Linked DNA regions of Homo sapiens: regions 2, 3, 4 and 5 are each linked to region 1. The links are contacts of gene promoters, found by promoter capture Hi-C in blood cells and fetal thymus (Javierre and others, 2016). All regions are on one chromosome and are shown on one strand. The core of a region is centred on a gene start or on the middle of the fragment in contact, and the rest is flanking DNA. Distances in the headings are between cores, read along the strand shown. Region 1 holds the start of OIT3 (oncoprotein induced transcript 3). Region 2 overlaps MICU1 (mitochondrial calcium uptake 1). Region 3 overlaps MICU1 (mitochondrial calcium uptake 1). Region 4 overlaps MICU1 (mitochondrial calcium uptake 1). Region 5 overlaps MICU1 (mitochondrial calcium uptake 1).

The links. Contacts are between HindIII fragments. The CHiCAGO score rates a contact against its expected background, and 5 or more counts as called.
Region 2: a fragment that was not itself captured here is called in contact with the fragment with the promoter of OIT3 in region 1 in 2 of 17 cell types (naive CD4 T cells and neutrophils); the score reaches 6.0 in naive CD4 T cells.
Region 3: a fragment that was not itself captured here is called in contact with the fragment with the promoter of OIT3 in region 1 in 1 of 17 cell types (erythroblasts); the score reaches 5.1 in erythroblasts.
Region 4: a fragment that was not itself captured here is called in contact with the fragment with the promoter of OIT3 in region 1 in 1 of 17 cell types (endothelial precursors); the score reaches 5.2 in endothelial precursors.
Region 5: a fragment that was not itself captured here is called in contact with the fragment with the promoter of OIT3 in region 1 in 3 of 17 cell types (activated CD4 T cells, erythroblasts and endothelial precursors); the score reaches 6.0 in activated CD4 T cells.

Annotation. Positions count from the first base shown.
Region 1 is chr10:72,891,815-72,896,928 of GRCh38, reverse strand. It overlaps OIT3 (oncoprotein induced transcript 3), which reads right to left and starts at 3,190. Exons shown (of 9, transcript NM_152635.3): 1 at 3,070-3,190. The coding sequence starts at 3,130. The HindIII fragment of the contact is 8,602 bases long and covers 1-4,073 here.
Region 2 is chr10:72,403,835-72,408,948 of GRCh38, reverse strand. MICU1 (mitochondrial calcium uptake 1) reads left to right here. Exons shown (of 12, transcript NM_001195518.2): 10 at 912-1,020. Among named protein-coding and RNA genes, the nearest start is that of DNAJB12, 51 kb to the right of the region's middle. The HindIII fragment of the contact is 3,915 bases long and covers 675-4,589 here.
Region 3 is chr10:72,428,316-72,433,429 of GRCh38, reverse strand. The region is part of intron 8 of MICU1 (mitochondrial calcium uptake 1); the gene reads left to right. Among named protein-coding and RNA genes, the nearest start is that of DNAJB12, 76 kb to the right of the region's middle. The HindIII fragment of the contact is 854 bases long and covers 2,545-3,398 here.
Region 4 is chr10:72,446,805-72,451,918 of GRCh38, reverse strand. All of the region lies in intron 8 of MICU1 (mitochondrial calcium uptake 1), which reads left to right. Among named protein-coding and RNA genes, the nearest start is that of DNAJB12, 94 kb to the right of the region's middle. The HindIII fragment of the contact is 265 bases long and covers 2,999-3,263 here.
Region 5 is chr10:72,477,694-72,482,807 of GRCh38, reverse strand. All of the region lies in intron 6 of MICU1 (mitochondrial calcium uptake 1), which reads left to right. Among named protein-coding and RNA genes, the nearest start is that of DNAJB12, 130 kb to the right of the region's middle. The HindIII fragment of the contact is 2,903 bases long and covers 1,604-4,506 here.

The DNA of each region.
Region 1 (5,114 bases), core at 1,941-4,440:
GAATCAACATAGGTAAATTGTCCTTATGAAGAATCTATGAAACCAAGAAATTCTAGAAAGGAACATTGGCCAGAGAGTACTATATTATCCTTCTTAATGCACATGAGGTTGACTTACGTAACTGATATCATAGGCAGGAAATTCACATTAGGGCCAATACATTTTGTGGGCAGGGAATTCAGTATTAGCAAATACTGCACAAAAATTAAATATGAATGGGCCATGATCACCAAATCTAACTTGTCTAGAAAATACTTTAGATTTTTCCAATCTACATATCCACAATTCAAAGTTAAGTTTACTCTCTAAACTTCAGTCACATGTAGAGAAAAGTGTAGCCCACTGCTAATGGCCTCCAAGAAAATATGACAATGTAAGACAAGAAATAAGTGGGATATTGCATTTTCTGGAAATAACACGCAGGGTTGCAAATGGCAGAAACAACCCTCTTTCTTTAAAATGCCCCTTATGTATCTCGGCTGAACCCTAGACCATAATCCTTTGAGGGGAAGAAATATCCTCAGATTCTTTCTCCCATCAAAAGGGACAAATTTCTTCCTCCTTTGCTCTCCCAGCTGTGACTTTTTCTTACAAATAAGGTTTCCAGAGCAGTTTCACAGGTGATTACAGAGTCATAGAAATATTTGATTCCTCTCCCTGGCTCTAATTTTATAAGAAATGGTTAGATACTTAACTTTTAATCGCTTCTACAGAAACTCCTAAACCTCTCTCAGTAACTATTTCCTTATTTATAAAGTTTTTCCTTCAAGTTAAATGTCATTTCTTGGGCTGTTTGCTAAAAGTTCACTTCCTCCCCTGCTGTAGGGGAGATAGGGTATGAGGAGGAAAAGTTTATCTACCATCTTCTATAACTAATTAAATAATACATATATATTTTTAAAAGTTAACCATCCAATACTTTCTGACATTTAACGTACCCATCCCACTCTACCCCCTTTTAAGGCAGCAATCCAATCTAATAATCTGGCCACTGGTCTTATATCCTGTTTTTAATCTCAGCGTGAAGCCCAGAATCTGGTATTGCGCACATTCATCCTAAAATGCTGATCTATACATCTCAGTGCGAAGGCTTCAAAAAGAACAGCTTCCTGGCCTGCCAGAAGCTCCTCAATGGTTTGCTAAGATGCCCACTTGCCAGCTGCCCCTCTGCTGTCTTCCACCAGGACCACGCAGGGCCAAGGGCAGGGAACCATGTCTGCGTCCCCACCCTTTCGCCCCAGGGTTGAGTCCTCCAACCCTCCAGGTCCTATCCGGCAGACAGCCGCCCCTGAATCACAGCCCCTTTTCGACCCTGTGCCTGAGCTTGGTCGGGAAGTGCCCCTCCTTTCCTGCTCCATCCTCTTCCATCCTCCTCCCTCATCACCCCACTTTGCTTCCCCCTTTCTCATCCCTTCTTTTCCTCTTCTCTCACTTCCCCTGTCCTCTCAGGGCAAACACCAGCTCTAGTTCCCAAAGTTCCCCCTTTATCATGCTTCTGGCATTGAGCCAAATATCATCCTTGAGGAGCTGGGGGTTGGAGGAAAAGATCTGGGAAGGGCGATGGTATATGGAAAGAATGGGGAATATAGGAGGTACTAGAGGGAGAATAGGTAAGGAGAAGGGTGGGAAGAAAGGGGAGTGGAGATTTTCGGGAGGACAACTTTCTGAGCGACCCTTGGGTTAGTTATTGGCAGCAGATAGGGGGTGATTAATGACAGGTAGCTCAAGCATATTTTTTGGAATAGTTTTGGATTTACAGCATAATTGAGATGATAGGACAAAGAGATCCCACATACCCCACACCCAGTTTCCCTTGTTATGACACGTTACCTTTAGCCATACATTTACCACACATTGGCATGGTACCTTTGTCACATTAATGACCCACTATTGATACCTGATTATTAACTCAAGTCCACACTTATTCAGATTCCCTTAGTTTCCACCCATATCTTTCTGTTCCAGGATCCCACATTACCTTTAGGTGTCAGGTCTCCTTAGGGTCTCAAATCACCATTTTTATTTTTATTTTTATTTTTTTGAGATGGAGTCTCCCTCTGTTGCCCAGGCTGGAGTGCAGTGGTTCGATCTCGGCTCACTGCAACCTCCACATCCCGAGTTCAAGTGATTCTCCCGCCTCAGCCTCCCAAGTAGCTGGAATTACAGGCATGCAACACCATGACCATCTAATTTTTTTGTGTGTATGTATTTTTAGTAGAGACGGAGTTTCACCATGTTGGCCAGGCTGGTCTTGAACTCCTGACCTCAGGTGATCCACCCGCCTTGGCCTCTCAAATGCTGGCATTACAAGTGTGAGCCACCGTGCCTGGCCACAAGCCTATTTTTAATGTGTATCCTTTCAGGTACTAGAGCAACCATGAAGAAATAAGCCAGGGTCAATTAGATACTGAGCTACTCAAAAGTGTCAAGAAGGATGGTTCTCTCCATCTCACCCCCACCCTCTGTTCCAGTTAGTACTCACATTCTACTAGAAAAAGATGCAAGAGAGAAATCTGTTAGTAACTGGAATTGAAACTTTTCTTTGCCTGACTGGCCAGTTTTGCACCAAGCCTGAGGAGGGAGACAATTTAAGATTCACTCGATCTGTGCAAAAAGTCTTATTTTCTGACATAAAGACTAATGAGTTTGGTTTATCCAGATCTGTGCCCCCCATGGCAACAGAGCTTTCAGTCCCTTGCCTTCATTAAAGAAAAATTCTATGCTCAACTTTAATTTTTTTTTTTTTGGCTCTTCAAGTTGGAACTATAAAGTGCCTAGAACACAAAGAAGATAGAATTATTTTTACACATACTCCAGGAACTCTTTAGCTAGTGAAAGCTGTGGGATATGGCAGATCCATGGAAATTTTGGAGTCCAGGCAAGAGGCTAAATGGAACATGTAACAGAAATTCTCGGGAAATCTATTTTCAAGGATTATTAGGGACTTTTCTTACAAGATTCTAGAGCTAGCATTTAAGGTACTGGAATCTAGTTCTTAATCATCTGTACATTATAGCAAATTGCCACAACAAAAAGTGCATTGTGCCAAGTTCTTGACATGAGACTCACCCACGGGTGACACGGAGGTGCCTGTGATGAAGAGGCAGGTGAGAAGCAGGAATGGAGGCATCCTTCTGGACCAACTGCCAGAAACACTGGAAAATCCTCTTAATACTGGTGTTCCTTTGTCCCCTTCTCTTTCAAGCACTTTTTTTTTTAAGGCCTCTAGGCTCTCACGAGAAAGACTTTATCAGCACTGGTAGGGGCTTTATCAGAGGAAGAGGATGAGGATGAGTGGGATAAGGTGTCCACAGCTCTGGCCTTGGCCCCAGAGAGAAGCACTGCTTTACACTGTCAACAGGGTTCCTTTATTAATAGTTTTCTTTAGGAAAAAAAAAAAAAAACACAACTCACAATCCCTCATCCTCCTATTGTTTTCTCTCAAGAATTCCCTGCAATGAAACCCCAGTATCTTATCCAGAAGGGAATTCTAAATGAGGGACATCCCTTCACGTCAAATTCTTGCTTTGTGACTTCTAGGAATTGATTTCACAATGTTGCAGCCATAGCACTGCACACTAAACGAGAATGGATGAAGCCAAATCACTGCAACTGTCTTGGTCAGATGGTTGAGGAGCTTATAATAGCACACAAAACAAAGTAGTAAGGACAGGTATGAGACAAGGACAGTATTCTCTTGAAATAAGCTCCTGAGTTTGTTTTATTACGGTCTTTGGCCTCAAAACTTCTGAAAGAAACAAGGTTTAAATTGTGTTTTTACTAATTCAAGCAGCAATACCTCATATTTTTATTGTCTTTACTCCCAAAATTAAAAAATGGTTTAATGTTATTTATTTCACTAATTCTCACATTAAGATGGGGTAGGAGCTTAAAATTAGAAACTACTCATTAAATTAACACTCTGGAAAATTAAATGTCAAAATTTCCTGAAGTTTCACTTTTAGACAAAGGAGAGAAAATGTGCTTCTTAGCACAATTTTTTTTTTCAGACGGAGTCTTACTCTGTCGCTCAGGCTGGAGTGCAGTGGTGTGATCTCGGCTCATTGCAAGCTTCGCCTCCCGGGTTCACGCCATTCTCCTGCCTCAGCCTCCCAAGTAACTGGGACTATAGGCGCCCACCACCACGCCCAGCTAATTTTTTTGTATTTTTAGTAGAGACAGGGTTTCACTGTGTTAGCCAGGATGGTCTCGATCTCCTGACCTCGTGATCCGCCTGCCTTGGCCTCCCAAAGTGCTGGGATTACAGGTGTGAGCCACCGAGCTCGGGCAATCACTGGTTTTTGACAATGACAAAAGTACACATGGTCTCCAGAAGCACAGGGTTTATGGTCAAGCAAGGGGTTTCCATTGATCTAAAATTGTAGTTAGCTACTTCATTACTAACATCAGTGGGACACAGGCAATTTGACCATTAACTTATTAAGTTGTGGTTTGATGGCAGCAATGGATGACTCTGCTGTCTCATTGCAGGATAGTGTTGCTAAGTATCAGTGCTTTAAACAGAAAAAACAATCCCCCACAACTTCCTGCGCCTAGGAAGCCATCTGAGGGCTTCATATGTGTTGCAGAGAAACAGAGGACGTGTGCATGAGATAAACCCAGACTTGTTGCCAGGATTGATTGCTGGAGTCAAGGACTTTCACCAGATAGCCTTTGGTTCTGTAAACAAGAATTCCCAGGATGGTAAGATGTTTTTTCCCCCTTATTTCTATTTTTTCCTTTTTAGTTGACCTGCTCTTTCATTTTTTACTTTTTATGATGAAAAATTTCAAATATATATACAAAAGTATAAAGAACAATAATGAACACTCAGCTATAATAATTACTAACATTCTATCAATTTCATTTACATACCAGTATGCATTTCTAACACATTGTATTTTTTTACATAATCATGATGCTTTTATTACAACTATGAAAATTAGTAATAATTCCTTAACTCATATCCAATCCATATTTAAATTGCTCCAATAGTTCCAAATATTCCTTTTATTGCTGGGTTGAGTCAGGATCCAAACAAGATTTATATATTGCATTTTGATTGTCACTTAAATTTATTTTTATCAGCTGGGTGCAGTGGCTCACACCTGTAA
Region 2 (5,114 bases), core at 1,383-3,882, 490 kb after region 1:
AAAAAAAATCTTCATTCACAGAATTTCATTAGATTAAAGTTAAGTGGCAAATTACTTTGTGGGTAGCTTTTAAATTGAGATAATGAACGGCTTCCCCATTACTTGGGTTTTGCTAAATACCGACACCGTTCCCCTGTATATCACTGACTTTGGTGATTCTTCAATTCGCTTAAGCCTCAAAAAGCTCAGCTGGCCTGTGAGCAGACTATTAAACTGGAAGTCCTGACTCTGATTTTACTTCTTAAGATGTATAACAAGTCAAGTAGCTATAGCCCAATTAGGAAGTGTCATCATTGATAGTGTGTCTAATTGGAGAGCACAGTTAGAAATATTTTCATTAGGCCAGGTGTAGTGGCTCAGACCTGTAATCCCAGCACGTTGGGAGGCTGAGGCAGGTGAATCACTTGAGGTCAGGAGTTCAAGGCCAGTCTGGCCAACATGATGAAACCCTGTTTCTACTAAAAATACAAAAATTAACCAGGCGTGATGGTGTGCACCTGTAATCCTAGCTACTCAGGAGGCTGAGGCAGGAGAATTGCTTGAACGTAGGAGGCGGAGGTTGCAGTCAGCTGAGATCATGCCATTACGCTCCAGCTTGGGTGACAGAGTGAAACTCCATCTCAAAAAAAAAGAAGAAATATTTTCATTAAGATATTCAGCCATCACTGTAAGCTTTCTCAGATTTTACGTGTGAGAGGGAAGCAACTAGCCAGTTTGCCTTTCTCAGGGTAGAATTCAAGAGTTTTGTTCCCCTGCTGTTTATGAATTTGATATTCCTTGACTAATGTATTCAGTTTCTGTTCTAGACATGAGCATGAATTTCTGATTTGCAGATGTGAATCACTGCCTATGCATATCGTGCTGCTTTTTGTTACAGGTCCTGCCTTACCTTGCTGTCTCTCCTCTTGCAGGGTCTGACATTTCAGGAGGTGGAGAACTTCTTTACTTTCCTAAAGAACATTAATGATGTGGACACTGCATTGAGTTTTTACCATATGGCTGGAGCATCTCTTGATAAAGGTAATGAAACTCAAAAAGTGTTTTTTTGAAGGTATGAACATTGGATCTGTAATCTCTTAGGTGACTGCCCCTCCTGAACAGTAAAAGATAAGTTTTTCTTGGCATCCTTGAAATGGTGTTTTGATTTGTTGACATTGTATGAGCCTTGCATTTCACCCTGAGATGCCAAGTTCAGTGAATATATTTTCTTGTGCTAAGGCCGTAGTCTGGGCAGGTGCCTATCTTTAAATGACTAACCTTGAAAATAAGCATCTAAGCTGAGGCACAGGGCATGAAGCTGCAGAACTTCCCCTATCTGAGCCAGAGTCATTATATATACAATGTGAAGCTAAAGTCACTATACAACTTAAGTTGCGTCTTTGATGAGAAGGAATGCTTTAGTTTATTTCTTATATTAAGACTTTTTTTAAGACAATATGACTCTGAGAATAACACCCCGCTCCTTTGGCTTACTTCATAGAAATTCAGTTACAGTTTGTACAAGCAACGTGAGAGCACGGAGGAATTGAAAGCACAATTTTTCCCTCAACATTTCATTATGAAAATTTTTAAACATTCAGAACAGTTGAAATAATTATTTAAATAACATCCACATATTCAGCTCAACTGACATTTTGCTATATTTGCTTGATCGTATGACTATGCATATTTTCACCTCTCTAAGTAATCATTGATCTTATTTGACATGTTCAAAGTAAGTTGCAGACGTAAGTATACTTCACTCCCAATTAGTTCAGTATGAATATTAACTAAAGTTCAAGATTCATTTAAAGTTCTTTCAGTCCCCTTCACAGTTTTTGCCCCCACTCACCAAGAGGCAACCTTTGTACTGTATATTTTTCCACCATAGATTAATTTTGCTTTTTCTAGAACTTCATACATTGGAATTATATAAATGTACACTCGTCTAAGGTTTCACTCAATGTTTTTGAGATCCATCTCCGTTGTGTGTCAGTAGTTTAATCCTTTTTTATGATGAGTAGTAACCCATTGTATGAATATAGTCAGGCATGGTGGTTCATGCCTGTAATCCGAACACTTTGGGAGGCTGAGGCAGGTAGATCACCTGAGGTCAGGAGTTTGAGACCAGCCTGGTCAACATGGCGAAACTCCATCTCTACTAAAATTGCAAAAATTAGCCAGGCGTGGTGGTGTATGCCTGTAGTCCCAGCTACTCGGAAGGCTGAGGCAGGAGAATTGCTTGAATCTGGGAGGCAGAGGTTGCAGTGAGCCAAGATTGTGCAGGATTGCTTGAGCCCAGGAGTTTGAGACCAGCCTGGGCAACATAGTGAGACCCCATCTCTCTCTTTTTTTTTTTTTAATAAGGAGTATATGAACATATATGAAAGTCCTGAAATGTCAGCTATTGTAAATGCTGCCAACTTGGTCTTCTTTTTCAAGATTACTTTGGATATTCTAGGTCATTTGTATTTCCATATAAATTTTAGAATCAGCTTGTCACTTTCTATGCCAAAAGAAGTGGAATTGTGATTACAGTAACATTGAGTATGTAGATCAATTTGGGAAGAATCAACACCTTAGTGTAATATAGCATCTTATAATTCACGAGCATAATATATCTCCCCATTTTTTAAGGTCTCATTTTCTCTCAGCAGTGGTCTTATAGTTTTATTAATACAGGTCTTGCACATATATTTTTAAAATTTGTGCTTAAGTATTTTATGGTTTTCGATCCCATTATAAATGGAATTGGTTTTATTTTATTTTCTAATTGTTTGCTGCTAATATTAAAATATAACTGATTTTTATATATTAACTTTATATTCTGTAATTTTGCTAAATTCACTTATTCTTCTAGTTGTTTTGTAGATTCCTCAGGTTTTTCTATGTAAATAATCCTATCATCTTCAAACAGAGATAGTTTCATCTCCTTTTTTAAAAAAAAATTTATGGCTTTTTTTTTCTTGCTTTATTGCACTTGCTTACCCCACCAATACAATATTGAATAGAAGTGGTGAGAGTGGACATCCTTGGCTTCTTTCTGAACTTTAGAGAAAAGTATTCAATATTGTACCATTAAATTGGATATTAGATTAGATTTTTCATAGTTGCTCGTTGTCAGATTAAGAAAATTATTTTCTGTTATTTGAAAAGGGTTTTTGTCATCAATGGCTCCTGTATTTTGTCAAATTTTTTTCTATATATATTGAAATGGTCATATGGCTTTTCTGCTTTATTCTTTTAATATGGTAGATGACATTGACTATTCCTTATCCTGAAATAAACCTAATTTGTAATGATGTATTAGCTTTTTTAATGTATTACTAGACTTGATTTCCTAACATTTTGTTAAATATTGACAGATATTGGTCTGTAATTTTTTTTTTTTTTGTAATGTCTTTTCGGGTTTTATGTCAGAGTATTTTATCCTCATAAAATGAGTTAGGGACTGGGCACAGTGGCTCACACCTGTTATCCCAGCACTTTGGGAGGCCGAGGCAGGTGGATCACCTGAGGTCAGGAGTTCAAGACCAGGCTGGCCAACATGGTGAAACTCTGTCTCTACTAGAAATACAAAAAATTAGCTGGGCATGGTGGTAGGTGTCTGTAATCCCAGCTACTCAGGAGGCTGAGGCAGGAGAATCACTGGAACCTGGGAGGTGGAGGTTGCAGTGAGCCGAGATTGCGCCATTGCACTCCATTCTGGGCGACAAGAGCGAAACTCTGTCTCTAAATTAATTAATTAATTAAATTAAATAGGCCAGGCATGGTGGCTCATGCCTGTAATCCTAACACTTTAGGAGGCTGAGACGGGCAGATCACCTGAGATCAGGAGTTCAAGACCAGCCTCGCCAACATGGTGAAACCCCATCTGTAACTAAAAATAACAAAAAGTAGCCGGGCTTGGTGGCACATGCCTGTAGTCCCAGCTACTTGGGAGGCTGAGGCAGGAGAATCACTTGAACCCGGGAGATGGATGTTGCAGTGAGCTGAGATCACGCCACTGCACTCCAGACTGGGTAGCAGAGCAAGACTCCATCTCAAAAATAATAATTAAATAAGTAAATAAATAAAATGAGGGATTTTTCCTTCTCTGTTTTCAGAAGTTTCTGTAAGATGAGTATTGTTTCTTTCTGAGCTGTATTTGATAGAATTCATCAGTGAAACTATCTGGACTTGCCAATTTCTTTCTGAAAAGGTTTTGATAATTTAATTTTTTAAGTAAATATGTAAGGTTTGTGTTTTATATGAATTTTAGGTTATATTTTTGAATAATTTGCCCATGTCATCTATGTTATTGAATTTATTGACATGAAGTTGTTCATAATATTCCATTATTATCCCTTTGATGTCTGTAGAATCTGAAATCCCCTTTTACTCCTACTGTTGGCAAATTATGAATTCTCTTTCTTTTTTAAAAAAATATTTCTTACTCAGTCTACCTAGGGGTTTAGCAATTTTGTTAATCTTTTCAAAGAACCAATTTTTGACTTTGTTAATTTTCTCTATGGTTTGTTGCCTATTGAGTTGATTTCTGCTCATACCTTTGTTACTTATTCCTTCACTTATTTTCAGTATATATTATTTTGTTTTTCTTTTTCTAAGCTTCTTAAGATGAAACCTTACTTACCTTTTCTAAGGTAAGCTTGTGAAGCTATAAATTTCCCTATAAACACTGCTTTAGTCTGGGCGTGGTGGCTCACGCCTGTAATTCCAGCACTTTGGAAGGTGGGTGGATCACTTGAGGCCAGGAGTTCAAGACCAGCCTGGCCAACAGGGTGAAACTCCATTTGTACTAAAAATACAAAAACTAGTCAGGCATGGTGGCACGCACCTGTAATCCCAGCTACTGGGGAGGCTGAGGCAGGAGAATTGCTAGAACCCAGGAGGCAGAGGTTACACTGAGCTGAGATCTCACCACTCTACTCCAGCTTGAGAGACAGAGGAAGACTCTGTCTCCAAAAAACAAACAAACAAAAAACACATAACCAAAAAATAAAACACACACACACTGCCGGGCGTGGTGGCTCACGCCTGTAATCCCAGCACTTTGGGAGGCTGAGGTGGGCGGATCACGAGGTCAGGAGATCGAGACCATCCTGGCTAACACAGTGAAACCCCGTCTCTACTAA
Region 3 (5,114 bases), core at 1,722-4,221, 460 kb after region 1:
TACAAAAATACAAAAATTAGCTGGGCATGGTGGCATGCACCTGTAATCCCAGCTACTCGGGAGACTGAGGCAGGAGAATCACTTGAACCCAGGAGATAGAGGTTGCAGTGATGAGCTGAGATTGTGCCACTGCACTTCAGCCTGGGCAACAGAGCAAGACTCTGTCTCAAAAAAAAATTGCGAAGAAAAAGCCAGGCACCAGTGGCTCACGCCTGTAATCCCAACACATTGGGAAGCCAAGGCAGGAGGATGACCTGAGGTCAGGAGTTCAAGACCAGCCTGGCCAACATGGTGAACCCTCATCTCTACTAAAAAATACAAAACATTAGCTGGGCATGGTGGTGCAGACCTGTAATCCCAGCTACTCGGGAGGCTGAGGCAGGAGAATCACTTGAACCTGGGAGGCGGAGGTTGCAGTGAGCCGAGATCGTGTCACTGCACTCCAGCCCAGGTGAGACTCCGTCTCAAAAAAAACATAAAGGAAGAAGAAGATCCACGCATTTGCCTACAATAAAGATTTTAAATTTCCACACATAAAACAGACCTAAACAAAATTAACAGATGGGCAAACTGAGTGATGTGGTTTGGATATTCGTCCCCTACAAATCTCATGTTGAAATGTGACCCCCGCAATGTTGGAGGCTGTGCCTAGTGGAGGTGTTTGGGTCGTGGGAGTGGATCCCTCATGAATGGCCTGGTGCCGTCCCCATAGTAATGAATGAGTTCTTGCTCTCGTTCACATGAGAGCTGGTTTTTTAAAACAGCCTGGAACCTTCCCCCTCTCTTTTCCTCTTTACTCTTGCCATGTAATATGCCTGCTCCCACTTCAACTTCCACCATGTCTGTTAGCTCCCTGAAGCCTTCACCAGAAGCAGAGGCTGGCACCATCCTTCCCCTATAGCCTGCAGAACCAAAATAAACCTCTTTTCTTTATGAATTACCCAGCTTCAGGTATTCCTTTATAGCAACACAAATGGACTAATACACTGGGCAAAAAAATTGGCAGGCAGGGTGGCTCATGCCTGTAATCCCAGCACACTGGAAGGCCAAAGTGGGAGGATCACTTGAGGCCAGGAGTTTGAGACCATCCTGGGCAACAGAGGAAAACCCCGTCTCTACAAAAAGAAAATTTGGTTTTTATATTTATTTGTATTAAATTTTTTAGAAACATAGCTGGGCATGGTGGCACACGCCTGTAGTCCTAGCTACTCAGGGGGCTGAGGTGGGAGGATTGCTTGAGCCCAGGAAGTTGAGGCTGCATTAAGTGTTGATCACACCACTGTGCTGCAGCCTGGGTGACAGAGTGAGACCCTGCCTCAAATTAAAAAAAAAAAAAAAAAAAGGCAATACATTAACAAAAAGCAAATATTTTTAATCTTAAGCTAATGAGACAAGTATCAGCACTGCTATTTTTAAAAATAGACAACATAAAAAATTCACAGAGGAAGAAATATAAATGACCACTACATATGTTAGAAAAATGGTCAACCTAGTAATCAAAGAAATACTAATTAAAATGAGTTGTCACTTTTCCTCTAGCAAAGATTTTTTATTATGTTTGATTTTGTTAAGGATACTAAGAAATGCATATTCTCATATATACTAGTGGGATTGCAAATTGATACATTTTTCTGGAAATTAATTTGGCAGACTACATTGGGAGCATTAAATAGTTTATCTCTACCATTTTTAGACCGAAGAGAGTGGCAAAAAATAAAAACTGACAATACCAAGTGCTGGTGGTGATGCAAAGCAGTGGGCACTCTTATACATAGCTGATAAAAAGTGTTGGTGTGATTATTTTGCAGAATGATTGGGCATTATCTTGAAAGGCCGGCAGTTCCACTTCCAGATATATACCCTAGTCTCAGAACTCTTGTTTTTCTTTCATCAGCACAGTTATCTAAGAATGTTCATAACAGCATTGTTCCTAATAGCAAAAAACTGACAATAATTGAGATGTCCATTTAGAGGAAAGCTGATACGTAAATAGTGGTAGAAGCTGGGCACGATGGCTTACACCTGTTATCCCAGCATTTTGTGAGGCCAAGGTGGGAGGATCACTTGAGGCCAGGAGCTCGAGACCAGCCTGGGCAAGATGGCGAAACCCTGTCTCTACCAAAAATGCAAAAATTAGCTGGCGTGGTAGTGCTCGCCTGCAATCCCTGCTACTCAGGAGGCTGAGGCATGAGAATCACTTGAACCTGGGAGGCAGAGGTTGCAGCGAGCCAAGATCACACCACTGCACTCCAGCCTGGGTGACAGACCAAGACCCTATCTCAGAAAATAGATAGATAGATAGATAGATAGATAGATAGATAGATAGATAGATAGACAGACAGATAAAGGTATATTCAAAGCAGTAGAAATCTGTAACAGTAAAAATGAAAGAAGCACAGTTAAATGTTGTAACATGTAGGAATCCTTGAAATATAATGAGGATTAAAAAAAACAAATTGCAAAAGAATATATCCACTGTGATACCATTTTATAAAGTTAGGAAGCAAGTAAAAGTAAACAATATATTGTTTAGGAATACAAGCTTTTGTTTTAAACTATTGAAAATAATAGGCCAGGTGCAGTGGCTCACGCCTGTAATCCCAGCACTTTGGGAGGCTGAGGCTGGCGGATCACCTGAGGTCAGGAGTTCATGACCAGCCTGCCAATGGAGTGAAACCACGTCTCCACTAAAAATACAAAAATTAGCCAGGCGTGGTGGCGCATGCCTGTAGTCCCAGCTACTCAGGAGGCTGAGGCAGGAGAATTGCTTGAACCTGGAAGGTGGAGGTTGCAGTGAGCCAAGATCACGCCATTGCACTCCAGCCTGGGCAACAGAGCGAGACCCTATCTAAAAAATAATAATATTAATAATGTACTAGAAAAGGGAGGCAGGGCATGGGCTTCAAATGGAGTGCCGATGCTTCCTTTCTCAGGGTAAGTGGGAGGCTCGTGGTGTTTGTTTTATTATGCTTCATAACTTGTCTGTTATATGTATTATTATGTATATGTCAAATATTTCACAATAAAATTTTAAAGATCCCATAATTTATATTTCAGAATTTTGTTTCTAGGGATCAATTCCTAAAATAATGATGAAAAATTAAGTTCAGCAAAAGTTTATCAGAGTGGTACTTACCATAGACAAAAAATGAAACAGCCTAGATGTCCAATACCATTTTTTTAAATCTTGCCTTTTTCAAGAAGGGATTTCAGAAATTCATAAAAAGTACAGGCAGTGAGATAAAAGTAAAAACTTGCTGAAAATTAAAGTTAAAAGAAAGAAGAAAGTAAAAGAAAGCCTAACTTTCTTTTAAGAAAAGTTAAGTAAGGTTAGTATGAAAAGTGTAAGTCATAATGTCTCCTATTCTAGAAGAGGCCCACAAACTTGACTATAAGCTTTCCAGTAACCAGGATAAAAAGGCAAACATGATTCACGTTGACTTTAAAATAAGAACATATCAACTGTTCTGATACTGAGACCAGAGAGAAATTTCTCTCCACATTAACTGTGTGGGCAAGTTATTTCACTTTTCTCTGTTTTTGAAATAGAATAATACTATTACCTATTATATAGCATTGCGAGAATTAACAAAGGTTAGTTCCTAGGATGGCACCTGGCAAGTATAAGCACTCAGATATGTTACTGATTAGCCAAAATGAATGGCATTCTCAAGACTATCCTTATAGAAATCAGTATCATGGAGGTAGATATTAAGAGATAAACGTAGAGATATTCCTTGCCTTAGATAGGAAACCCTCCCAACAATAGGACAGAAGTGTTGTGAATTTTCTGGTGTTTTGTCTGTGTTCATTCAATACATATTTATTGAGCTCTTTCTTTATGCCAGGTTTTCTGTTTTATAATTATGGCCAGGGTACAGGTTATTAAGTTGGTGTTCTGCTTCAAGAAACTCTAAGTAGTTTAATCTTAAAGTCATTCTAATGTGTTGAATAATAAATAAAATTAATTGCTACATTTATTGAATTTTTTTTCTTTTTTTTTTTTTTTTGAGGCAGGATCTCGCTCTGTCACCCAGGCTGGAGTGCAGTGGCACGATCTTGGCTCACTGCAACCTCCACCTCCCAGGTTCAACTGATTCCCTTGCCTCAGCCTCCCAAGTAGCTGGGATTACAGGTGCACACCACCAGACCCGGCTAATTTTTATATTTTCAGTAGAGACAGGGTTTTACCATGTTGACCAGGCTGGTCTCAAACTCCTGACCTCAAGTGATCCTCCCACCTTGGCCTCCCAAAATGCTGGGATTACAGGTGTGACCCACCACACCCAGCCCATTTATTGAATGTTAACTGGGCCTCAAACTCTGTACTAATTTCTTTACATATATTATCCCATTTAATCTTTACAACAACACTTTGAGGTCACGAATATTATCTCTATTTTTTGGTAAGAAGATTTGAACCCTCGGAACGGGTAAGCCACTTCCTTGAAGTCACAGCCAGCAAGTATGGGTTCAGGCCAGAATTTGGATCCAGGCCTTCCTGATTGTAAAGTCCATATTCTTAGTCACTTCAGTATATTACCTTCTGTGGAATGAAAACAAAACATATCAAACCTTGAAACCTTTTGTTCCAAATCTAAAATATTTTTCCCTGACACCCTCAGTCAAATATTTCCTGATTGTTATTATCTTGTAATAAATTCATGCATTAATCTTATTATCTTCGTGGTTTTGGCTGTCAGGCTGGAGGGTTAACCTTTCCCTGGTCTGACTGTTGTGATTGGTACTCATCATTTAGTCAGTTGTTTTGATCACCAACCTGAAATTTTTTCTTAAAAACCATTTTTAAATGGAAGGAGGCCAGGTACAGTGTCTCACGCCTGTAATCCCAGCACTTGAGGCCGAGGCGGGTGGATCACCTGATGTCAGGAGTTCGAGACCAGCCTGGCCAACTTGGTGAAACCCCATCTCTACCAAAAATACAAAAAATTAACCAGGCATGGTGGTGAGCGCCTATAATCCCAGCCCACTTGGGAGGCTTAGGCAGGAGAATTGCTTGAACCTGGGAGGCAGAGGTTGCAGTGGAGATCGCGCCATTGCACTCCATCCTGGGCAACAAGAGCAAAACTCCATCTCAAAAATAAAATAAAATA
Region 4 (5,114 bases), core at 1,882-4,381, 440 kb after region 1:
CAGTCCAGCCTGGGTGACAGAGAGAGACTCCATCTCAAAAAAAGAAAGAAAATATCTAACTAATGTTAATATCTTCGGCCAGGCACAGTGGCTCATGTCTGTAGTCCCAGCACTTTAAGAGGCCAAAGCAGGAGGATTCCTTGAAGCCAGGAGTTTAAGACCAGCCTGGGCAACAAAGCGAGACCCTGTCTCTATAAAAAATTTTAAAATTAGCTGAGTACAGTGGCAAGTGCCTATAATCCCAACTACGTGGGAGGCTGAGGTGAGAGGATCCCTTGAGCCCAAGAGTTCAAGGCTGCAGTGAGCTATGATGGTACCATGGACTCCAGCCTGGGTGAGAGTGAGACCCTGTCTCTTAAAAAACAACAAAAAAGATTATCTTCATCTTCTGTGTTACATCTAGTTCTTCAAATCTGATACTCTTGAAGGTAGATCTCTGCTGCCTTTGAGAGCTATGGGAGATTTTGGGAACAGCTTCTTTAATAGTTGCCACTGCCTCTATTGTCTTATATTGGCCATTCACATTGATGCATCAGCTGTTGCAAGCCTATTAGGACCCCAAGAAGAGATGATATTAAAAACAATTTAAAGATTTAGGCCAGGCATGGTGGCTCACACCTGTAATCCCAGCACTTTGGGAGGCTGAGGCAGGCAGATCACAAGGTCAGGAGATCGAGACCATCCTGGCCAACATGGTGAAACCCCATTTCTACTAAAAATACAAAAATTAGCTGGGCATGGTGGCACATGCCCATAATCCCAGCTACTTGGGAGGCTGAGGCAGGAGAATCACTTGAACCAGAAAGGCGGAGGTTGCAGTGAGCTGAGATCATGACACTGTATTCCAGTCTGGCAACAGAGCAAGACTCTGTCTCAAAAAAAAAAAAAAAAAAAGATTTAAGGGACTGGGCGCAGTAGCTCACGCCTGTAATCCCAGCACTTTGGGAGGCCAAGGCAGGCAGATCACCTGAGGTCAGGAGTTCAAGACCAGCCTGGCCAACATGGTGAAATCCCATCTCTACAAAAATTAGCCAGATGTGGTGGTGCACAGCTGTAATCCCAGCTACTTGGGAGGCTGAAGCGGGAGAATCGCTTGAACCCGAGTGGTGGCGGTTGCAGTGAGCTGAGATTGCACCATTGCACTCCAGCCTGGATGAGAGAGTGAGATCCCATCTCAAAAAAAAAAAAAAAAGAATTAAAAAAATAAAGATTTAAGGAAGTATAATTTCAAACATGAGAATATTCTGCTAGCACCAGCAAGAGAAAGACCTGCAAGGCAGAAACAAAGCATGATCTGACTTTGTTTTAGTAAAGATTTAAGATTAGCAGTGAGAAAGCCATGCAACCACAGGCTTTGCAAGTTGTTAGAGTTAGTTCCCCGGAATGTGTATGAAGCAGAAAAGAACCTGTTTGGCACTGATACCTTCAGTCACCTCCATTCGCACAATCACTGTCAGAAACATCATCTCATCTGACCACCTGTCTCTGTCTCCACCACCATTCTTGTCTTTTGCTTGGGCTACTTCAGTTGCCGCCTAACTACGTGATTCATCTCATCAATCACTCTTAACTAAGAGCCTTTGCACCACTATTGATTTCCCTGGAGCTCTCTTCCTTCTCCTTCACCTAGTTACCTTGTTTTTATCGCTCAGAGCTCACTTAAACCTCACTCATATCTTTTCCTGCTTCACCACCTCTCCACCCCAAATTAGATCACATTTTTGTTACACATTTCCAAAGGACTCTGTACTTTTTTTTCAAATCACTTAATTACATAGTCATTTCATTGTTTGTTAAATACCTGTCTCTCTGCAAACACTCCCTGAGAACTTTCACGAGAGTGTTGGGCCCGCCATTATTTCCTTAGTGCTTCCCAGAGACAGAACACAAACCAGATTTTCAGGAAATAGTGTTGAATTAGTAAATATCAGATGTGGACGAAAGCCTGGCAAAGTACACATACATGTTGATGCCCACTCCCTCTCCAGCTCTCTGTGGCATCTATGGTCTAGTATATTAGGCACATTCTGGGGTATCAGCCCCGCTTTCAACAATTCTGTCTTCTCCAGGATTTTGCCCACTCCACTTCCCAAACATATGTGGGAACTCCTAAAAGCCATGTTTGTAAATGTGAAGTTCGATCTAGAGATAGACCAATATACTTAAGCATGAAACATTCCTCATTAGCTATTTTAAAAATGAAAAAGTACCACAAAATTGAGAAGTATCGTTTATGTTTCTTAAGTTGCTTTTAAAAAAAAACTAAAGAAAACCTTAATTAACTTGATGACCAGAAAGAAAAAAATAAAAAAACGCTTTACTGCTGCAGGATTTAAAACATAACCTGACTTAATGGTCTGTCTGTGGTACTCTAAGAAACTTACCAGGTGCAGTGGCTCATGCCTTTAATCCCAACACTTTGGGAGGCCAAGGTGGGAGGATTGCTTCAGCCTAGGAGGTCAAGACCAGCCTGGGCAACATAGTGAGACCCTGTCTTTACCAAAAAAAAATTTTTTTTTTTGAGACAGAGTCTTGCTCTGTCACCCAGGCCGGAGTGCAGTGGTGCAATCTAAGCTCAGTGCAGCCTCTGCCTCCTGGGTTCAAGCAATTATTGTACCTCAGCCTCCTGAGTGGCTGGGATTACAGGCACCTGCCACCATGCCTTGCTAATTTTTGTATTTTTGGTAGAGACAGGGTTTCACCATGTTGGCCACACTGGTCTCAAACTCCTGACCTCATGTGATCTGCCCGCCTCAGCCTCCCAAAGTGCTGGGATTTCAGGTATGAGTCACCATGCCCAGATTAAAAAATTTTTTAAATTAGCTGGTCATGGTGGCAAATGCCTGTAGTCCCAGCTCCCTGGAGGCTGAGGCAGGAAGATCGCTTGAGCCCAGGAGGTCGAGGCTACGTGAGCCATGATAACACCACTGCACTCCAGCCTGGGTGACGGAGTGAGACCCTATCTAAAACAACCAAAACAAAACGAACAAACAAAGCTTAATTGTCTAGCAAGGGACAGCTAAACTTATAATTAACCAATAGGTTACAGCACTGTAAAAGAAATCTTGCAAATTTTCTCCCTGGCTGTTTTTTACAATTGTTATCATTAAAGGACTTCATGGTTTTCCTGTTCTTAAGGGGGAAAATATTTTCTTTTTTTTTCCTTTATGAAAGGAGAATGACAGTGATACAGTGTGGCCCATTAGATCCTTTGCCATTCACCTGCCTGTGTTTGGACTGTTCTCACTTTGTGTATTAAAGCTTCCTTAAGCTACATGTTTCTGAGCCTCAGTCTCCCAATCTTTATTGCATTTTTCCTAATGCTTGTCAGTCAACTTAATCTGAATTCTAATTTCTATATATTGTGTTCCAATCTCTAGCTCTCCTTTTCTAAAAAATGGGCACTTTCCAATGTAATGTTTAGTGTATTAAAAAATATTAACTTGGCCAGGTGCGGTGGCTCACACCTGTAATTGCAGCACTTTGGGAGGCCAAGGTGGGCGGATGACTTGAGGTCAGGAGTTCCAGAACAGCCTGGCCAACATGGTGAAACCCTGTCTCTACTAAAAATACAGAAATTAGCTGGGCATGGTGGTGGGCACCTGTAATCCCAGCTACTCAGGAGGCTGAGTCAGGAGAATCACTTGAACCAGGAGGCGGAGGTTGCAGTGAGCCTCGGCAAGAGAGCAAGACTTTGTCTCAAAAAAAAAAAAAAAAAAAAAAAATATATATATATATATATATACACACACATATACACACACACAGACACACACACACACACACACACACACACATATATATAAACTTTTTCCATGGTGCCCAATGTGAATGAGCTCATCACCTATGCAATGGCTTTCTGAATGGTGAGAATTAAAATGGATGATAAGATTAAGCCAATCAAAGAAGGGGTGGGTCATCAGAAAAAGTGAGATCAACTGGGATTTGAGCTCTGGAGACTGAAGAATAATGTGTTACTAATTTTACAGATGGTGTCCTCAAAATGTAGGTTTTTAGTGTAGGCAGAAATTTGAGAATATGCAACTTCATAATTTAGCTCAGTTCATCCAGGTAAAAGCAGATATAACCTTAACTGTTTTATCGTTCTAATATAATAGACCTCTGTTCCTCTCAGTTAAACTCTCCAGCTTTTGTGGAGCATAGCAAGACTTTTCATGATAGATTCATTGAACATGGCCATTTTCCTAACTGAGGCACAATTGATTTTTTCATATCTTTTTTTTTAACTTCTGCCTGTACACCAATGATTTTTTCGTATATTGCATCTGTGAAATTGTTCCTATAGAAAACTTCAAGTAGTAACTATTTTTAACAGCATTGCCTCCTGGTTATAAACTAGCAGTTTAACATATAATTGCTTACCTAGGTTTTCTTTTTCTTCTTTTTATTAGGAATATATATGTATACTTACAGTCAGTCTGTAATTATGGGCTTGTTAAGTCATTCATAGAAACAGTAATATACAATTTTGTCATGACTATAATCATGCCAATAATATATATCTGTATAGAGTAATTTTAAAACCCTCTAGCCTATATTATGATCTTGGTGTTGTCCTATTATCTCTTCAAATCCCAGGTCCCTCTAGGCAGTAGCTATTATGCCTACTTCAAAGGTTATTATGAGACTCAAATGAGAGAGTGAATCGGAAGCATTTTGTACATTATTATCCCTCAACCTATTTGTGCCCCATACATAGTAACTTCAGGCCTTATAGTTTGTCCCTACTGCTCCTGTTTCCGTAAACCTTTGCAGAAATCTGGTTTTTACGGGCAAAAAGAGGTTATAATTCAACTTTCCATGCTCTAAGCATAGTTCCAGTCTTGCCCATCTCTTTTATTTCTCTTCTTATAAACATGCAAAATGTTCATGTGAAGAGTAGAAAGGAGAGGATTAAGAGAATTACTTACTTACAGTTTTTCTTTCCTTTCTCAATCTTATTTTTTGTTGTCTTTGTAGAAGACAGAAAGTTTATTTCTCTTTAAATAGAGCTAAAGTTAACAGAAGCAAGTGTGACCACAAACTTATTACTTGCAGCTTTTGTTCATTGTTCTTACTATCATTATTAATAGCAGCCAACATTTACTGAGCTC
Region 5 (5,114 bases), core at 1,806-4,305, 410 kb after region 1:
ATTGACCATTTAAAGTACCCCCCAGACGAGGGCTATTATGATGTTGAGGTTTTGGAAGCAAGTTCTAAGAAGCCTTTTTAGAGACATGATAATAGTTTATATGTATTCAGAGGGCCATCATATAAATGAAGAAGCAGATTTATTTCTCTAGAAGATTAAACTATGACAGTTTTTAGGAGCTACACAGGGTAGATTTGGACTGTGCATGAGGAAAAAAAACAGCTCATTTAATATGGTCAACAATGTTTACACCTCAGAAGTGGTGACCTCTCCCTCAGAAATAATCAGAGGCTGTGTGATCATCCTTACAAATTCAGTGGAAAGCTCATCATTGAATAGAGGAACATTCTGGAAGTTTTTTTCAAAACTCAGACTTCTCTGACATTGCATATCAATTACCTCATTTATCCTCTAGCATTCTAAAACAGGAATGGGACAGGTAAGAATTCTTTGATAGGAGAATCAAACCAATAGAAAATAAGAAACTTGTTTAGAATCTAACCTATTCATTTTTTCATCATTCCATCAGTGCTACCAAAAAATAATGTAAGGCAGCAAATGACTCATTAGGTTATTGGAAAAGCCAGAATTAGAACTTTAGTTCAACCATTCCTACCCGTACCATTCCTTATGCATTTTCTATTAAAGAACAGTGAGAGAAATAGCCATGAAATCAACCAGTGAAAGTCTCAGGACAGCTAGTGTTTATCTGATTATGTGACTCAATACACATAGAAAAAGATGGTTTTTTCTCTTTACTAAAACAAAACAGAAAAAATGTGCTTCAGGAAACAGTGTAGAGTTGTCATTATTATTATCATGATTGTCAATGGTGGAATGATATTATAGAAACAGACTTGTAACCAGAACAGACCTAATGTAGCTCTGTATCCTAGTAGCAAAGATTATTAAGGAAATCTAAGTGAAAGGTGTATAGTAACAAACTTTGTGTAGGGTCTTATTGTTCTAATCAGTTTCAACACTTGCTGAGACCATTTTGGAAATCGTGTAGAAAGTAAATTATGCTGTTTTAGCAGGGGGGAAAGCCTCACTCTTCACTCTAAGTAGCCTAGCATTCAAAAGAATTCCTTTTTCAGGGTGGGCGCTGTGGCTCACGCCTGTAATCCCGACACTTTGGGAGGCCAAGGCGGGTGCATCACTTGAGGCCAGGAGTTCTAGAACAGCCTGGCCAATATGGTGAAACCCCGTCTCTACTAAAAATACAAAAATTAGCCGGGGGTGGTGGTGTGCTCCTGTAATCCCAGCTACTTGGGAGACTGAGGCACGAGAATCACTTAAACCTGGGAGGCAAAGGCTGCAGTGAGCCAAGATCATGCCACTGCACTCCAGCCTGGGCAATAGAGCAAGATTCAGTCTCAAAAAAACAAAAAACAAAAAACAAAACAAAAACCAAAATTCCTCTTTCAGAACCTTTCTATGGAAACAGATTATGAGTTAGAATAAACACAGGATGCCATAAGCTTTCCAAAACAACTAGATTTAAAAATTGCCCTGAAGGCTACATTTGAGAGGAGACAAATAAGTTTACAAGAGAATCGCTTGACATCATATACTGTGTAGCATGTTTCACTTAAAGCAAGCTTGTTTTTGGCTTGTTTGTCCCATATGCTTTGACATGATCAGCCAATGAAATTGAATAGGCTGAGAGCTCTTTCTAGAAAGACTGGCCCTGAGAGGCTGGTGAGGCCCAAGTGAGCATGTCCAAGGCTGCAGCCCAGCTTGCCTCAGCAGTGGCCCAAGCACAGGTTCATGGCCTCTGTGGTGTCAGCGCATGTACTTTAACAAGCACTCTCAGTTGCTCCACATAAAGCCAGTACTTTGAAAGGAACTATACCAGGATAAAAAGACAGAGAAACCTCAAGCATTACAGGGTATACTTTGTTTGGTAAAGTGTATTTAACCTTAGTTGTAGGAGGTGATATTAACCATAATATGCTAGAATAACTCATTCAGTCATTTAAATGATCTGGGCACATGCCTTCATGGAACTCACAAGACAGTAAGACTACAAGATCCTGATAAAGCTGAAGTTGTAAGCAGTCTGTGTCACCTCTGTAATTGTGGAGAGAGGGAATGGGGATACTGCTTTAATTCATGTATGGGAGCATATTGACTTCGCTCTTATCAAATGTTTTCCTATTTCTATTAATTTGGGCTGTATTCCTCTGGATATTGTGATGCCGCTTCCTCTGTCACTGCCTCCTTTCCTTTTCGTTGCACTTTAAACATTGGCTTCCACCTGCAATCTACCCTTTTCTTGACCTTCTCCTCACTCCTCAGTTTTGCATGGGCAACTTCCTTTCAGGTTCTTTGCAGCTAGCCACTTGTATGCCCATAAATCCCAGCTTAAACCTCTCTCACTGAGCTTTAGACCCATATTTCCAACTGTCTCCTGAACATCTTCATCTGCATAAGCTGAGACCCCTTAAATTTAGCAGATCCCGTCTGAAATCATTTTATTTCTCAAACATTTTACATCTATTTGCTCTCTTTCTTCATGCCATGCAAGCTACACAGTAGTCTAAGCCAGTCATGCTGTCATTCCTTTTCACTCTCAACTCATCACAGCTAACTAATCATTAAGTTCTATAATTTCTGCCTTCTTTGGGTATCTCAAATGTGTCCCTCCTCTCCATTACCACTGCCATCACTGCAGTTTGCATTTTCAACATTTAAAAGAGCTTCTGATCTTCTTTAAAGCTGGCCTTTCTTTTCCAACTCATTCTTCACACAGTAGCTGGAGAAGTCCTTTATAATTGCTTGATTGTGTCACTCTCCTACTTAAAACCTTCAGTGGCTTCATATTTTCTGCCATTGTTACATTCTCAAGTATCTACAGGAATTAGGCAAATAACATATAGGAGTGAAGTGGGCCAAGTGTGACAAAATAAGGAAGAATAAGAGAGAACATTTCCACCTGAAGAGATTTATAATCAGAAGTTTAAAAAACATGACAAACCAGCCGGGTGCTGTGGCTCACACCTATAATCCTAGCACCTTGGGGAGCTGAGGCAGGAGGATCATTTGAGGCCAGGAGGTTTAAGACCAGCCTGGGCAATGTAGTGAGACCACATCTCCACAAAACATAGAAAAATTATCCAGGCTTGGTGGCACGCACCTGTAGTCCTAGCTACTCCAGAGGCTGAGGCAGGATTGCTTGAGCCCAGAAGTCTGAGGTTGCATTGAGCTATGACTGTGCCACTGCATTCTAGCCTAGATGACAGAACAAGACCCTGTCCCAAAAAACAAAAACACATGACAAACCTATCTGAGAGTTTAATGTTGCCTGTGGATCTTCCATTTACTACGGTCAAGCCTAAACTCCTGAGCATAACACAGGCAGTGTTTCTGTGATATTGGTTATCTCCTTGAGATGATCAACTTGGAATGTTCAGCTTTTGCAGAGACTGACATAACCACTGTGTCATGTTTTGTTGCTTAGTTTTTAGGTCAAATCGTGTCAGCATGAAGAGTGTGTGTTTATCATTTTAAGTACCTCTATGTTCACATTAGAGGCCTTGGAACATAAGGAAAGTTTGTAGGCTTTGGAGTCAGTGTTGACTTAAGTTCAATTCCCACTTCTGCCAAAAAGGAGCTGTGTGATTTTTGAGCTAGCCATTTAACTGCTTTGAGCCCCAATATCCTCCTCTGTTTAAACAATAAAGAAATGAAAGTTTTCAAGATTGAGAGTATGAAGTCAAATAATAAACACCTCCAATTATCTAGCTCAATGCCTGCCACATAGTAACTCCTCAGTAAAATGTAACATTCAGACAGGTAGCAAAAATTTGAGAAGTGACAACAAATATACAAAACTAATTCCCCCAGCTGCATCCTTCCCAGCAATTGAAGGCTGGGTCATGGTGGCTCACACCTGTAATCCCAGGACTTTGAGAGGCCAAGGTGGGAGGATCACTTGAGGTCAGGAGTTCAAGACCAGCCTAGCTGACATGTTGAAACCCTGTCTCTGGCCTAAAGGAAAGCAAACCTATTGGAAGTCAATATCAAGTGAAGCAGACAATTGGAAGCTGACACACACATGATTCACCCAGGCAACTAAAAACCAGGAGTTTCCAGCCTAGCTGCCTAACTACCTGAAAATGGAATTTGAGCCCAGAAAGTGTTTCTGTTGACAAATTCATGAGCAGGATGGGAATATGGCCTCTCTAACAATTATACATAATATACAAAGTTCATTTTACTTTTTTCTCTGCATAAAATCTTAACTTTTTTCATGTAAATGATGTTAACTGAAATTTTAATTCACTAGTATAAGGACACATAGAATATTTATTTTGGTTTATTCTCTAGAGCTGTATAAATTTGAAGCACCAAAGGAAGGAAGTAAACAACTTAGTTTTCTTTACCAGAACATTTAGTATGGGAAGGGAGGAGGGCTGTTGAGTTTATATTTTATTCCAATGCACAGAGTATATTAATGATATTATGACTGATCTAGGAACACTAAAGAAGCCTTGAAAAGCTTTCATCATTAAGGGAAAGTTTTGTCAAGCTTTGCATTTTTTCATTTTGTTATTTAAACTTCAGCTTAATTTTACCATTTAAGTATATTTAGTAATTTGTGTATGCAGCTGACATGATCGAAATAGGGGGCTGAGGCCAGACGCCGTGGCTCACACCTGTAATCCCAGCACTTTGGGAGGCCAAGGCGAGTGGATCACTTGAGGTCAGGAGTTCAAGACCAGCCTGGTCAACATGGTGAAACCCCGTCTCTGCTAAAAATACAAAAATTAGCCAGGCATGGTTGTACATGCCTGTAATCCCAATTACTCGGGTGGCTGAGGCATGAGCATCACTTCAACCCTGGAGGCGGAGGTTGCAGTGAGCCAAGATGGCACTACTGCACTCCAGCTTGGGCAACAGAGTGAAACTGTCTCAAAAAAAAAAAGAAAAAAAAATAGGGGGCTGAGTACCTTACAGTGTACTTTTCTGCCTTACCATAGAGCTGTAGTGATAATGAATAAACTAATAAAAGAAACCAACTTGAAATTATCCATGTTGGCAGGGTGACATGCCCAGAACTCCTGACTGCACTTACAACAAAGAGACTAGAAAGAACAAAGTAGAAAGCT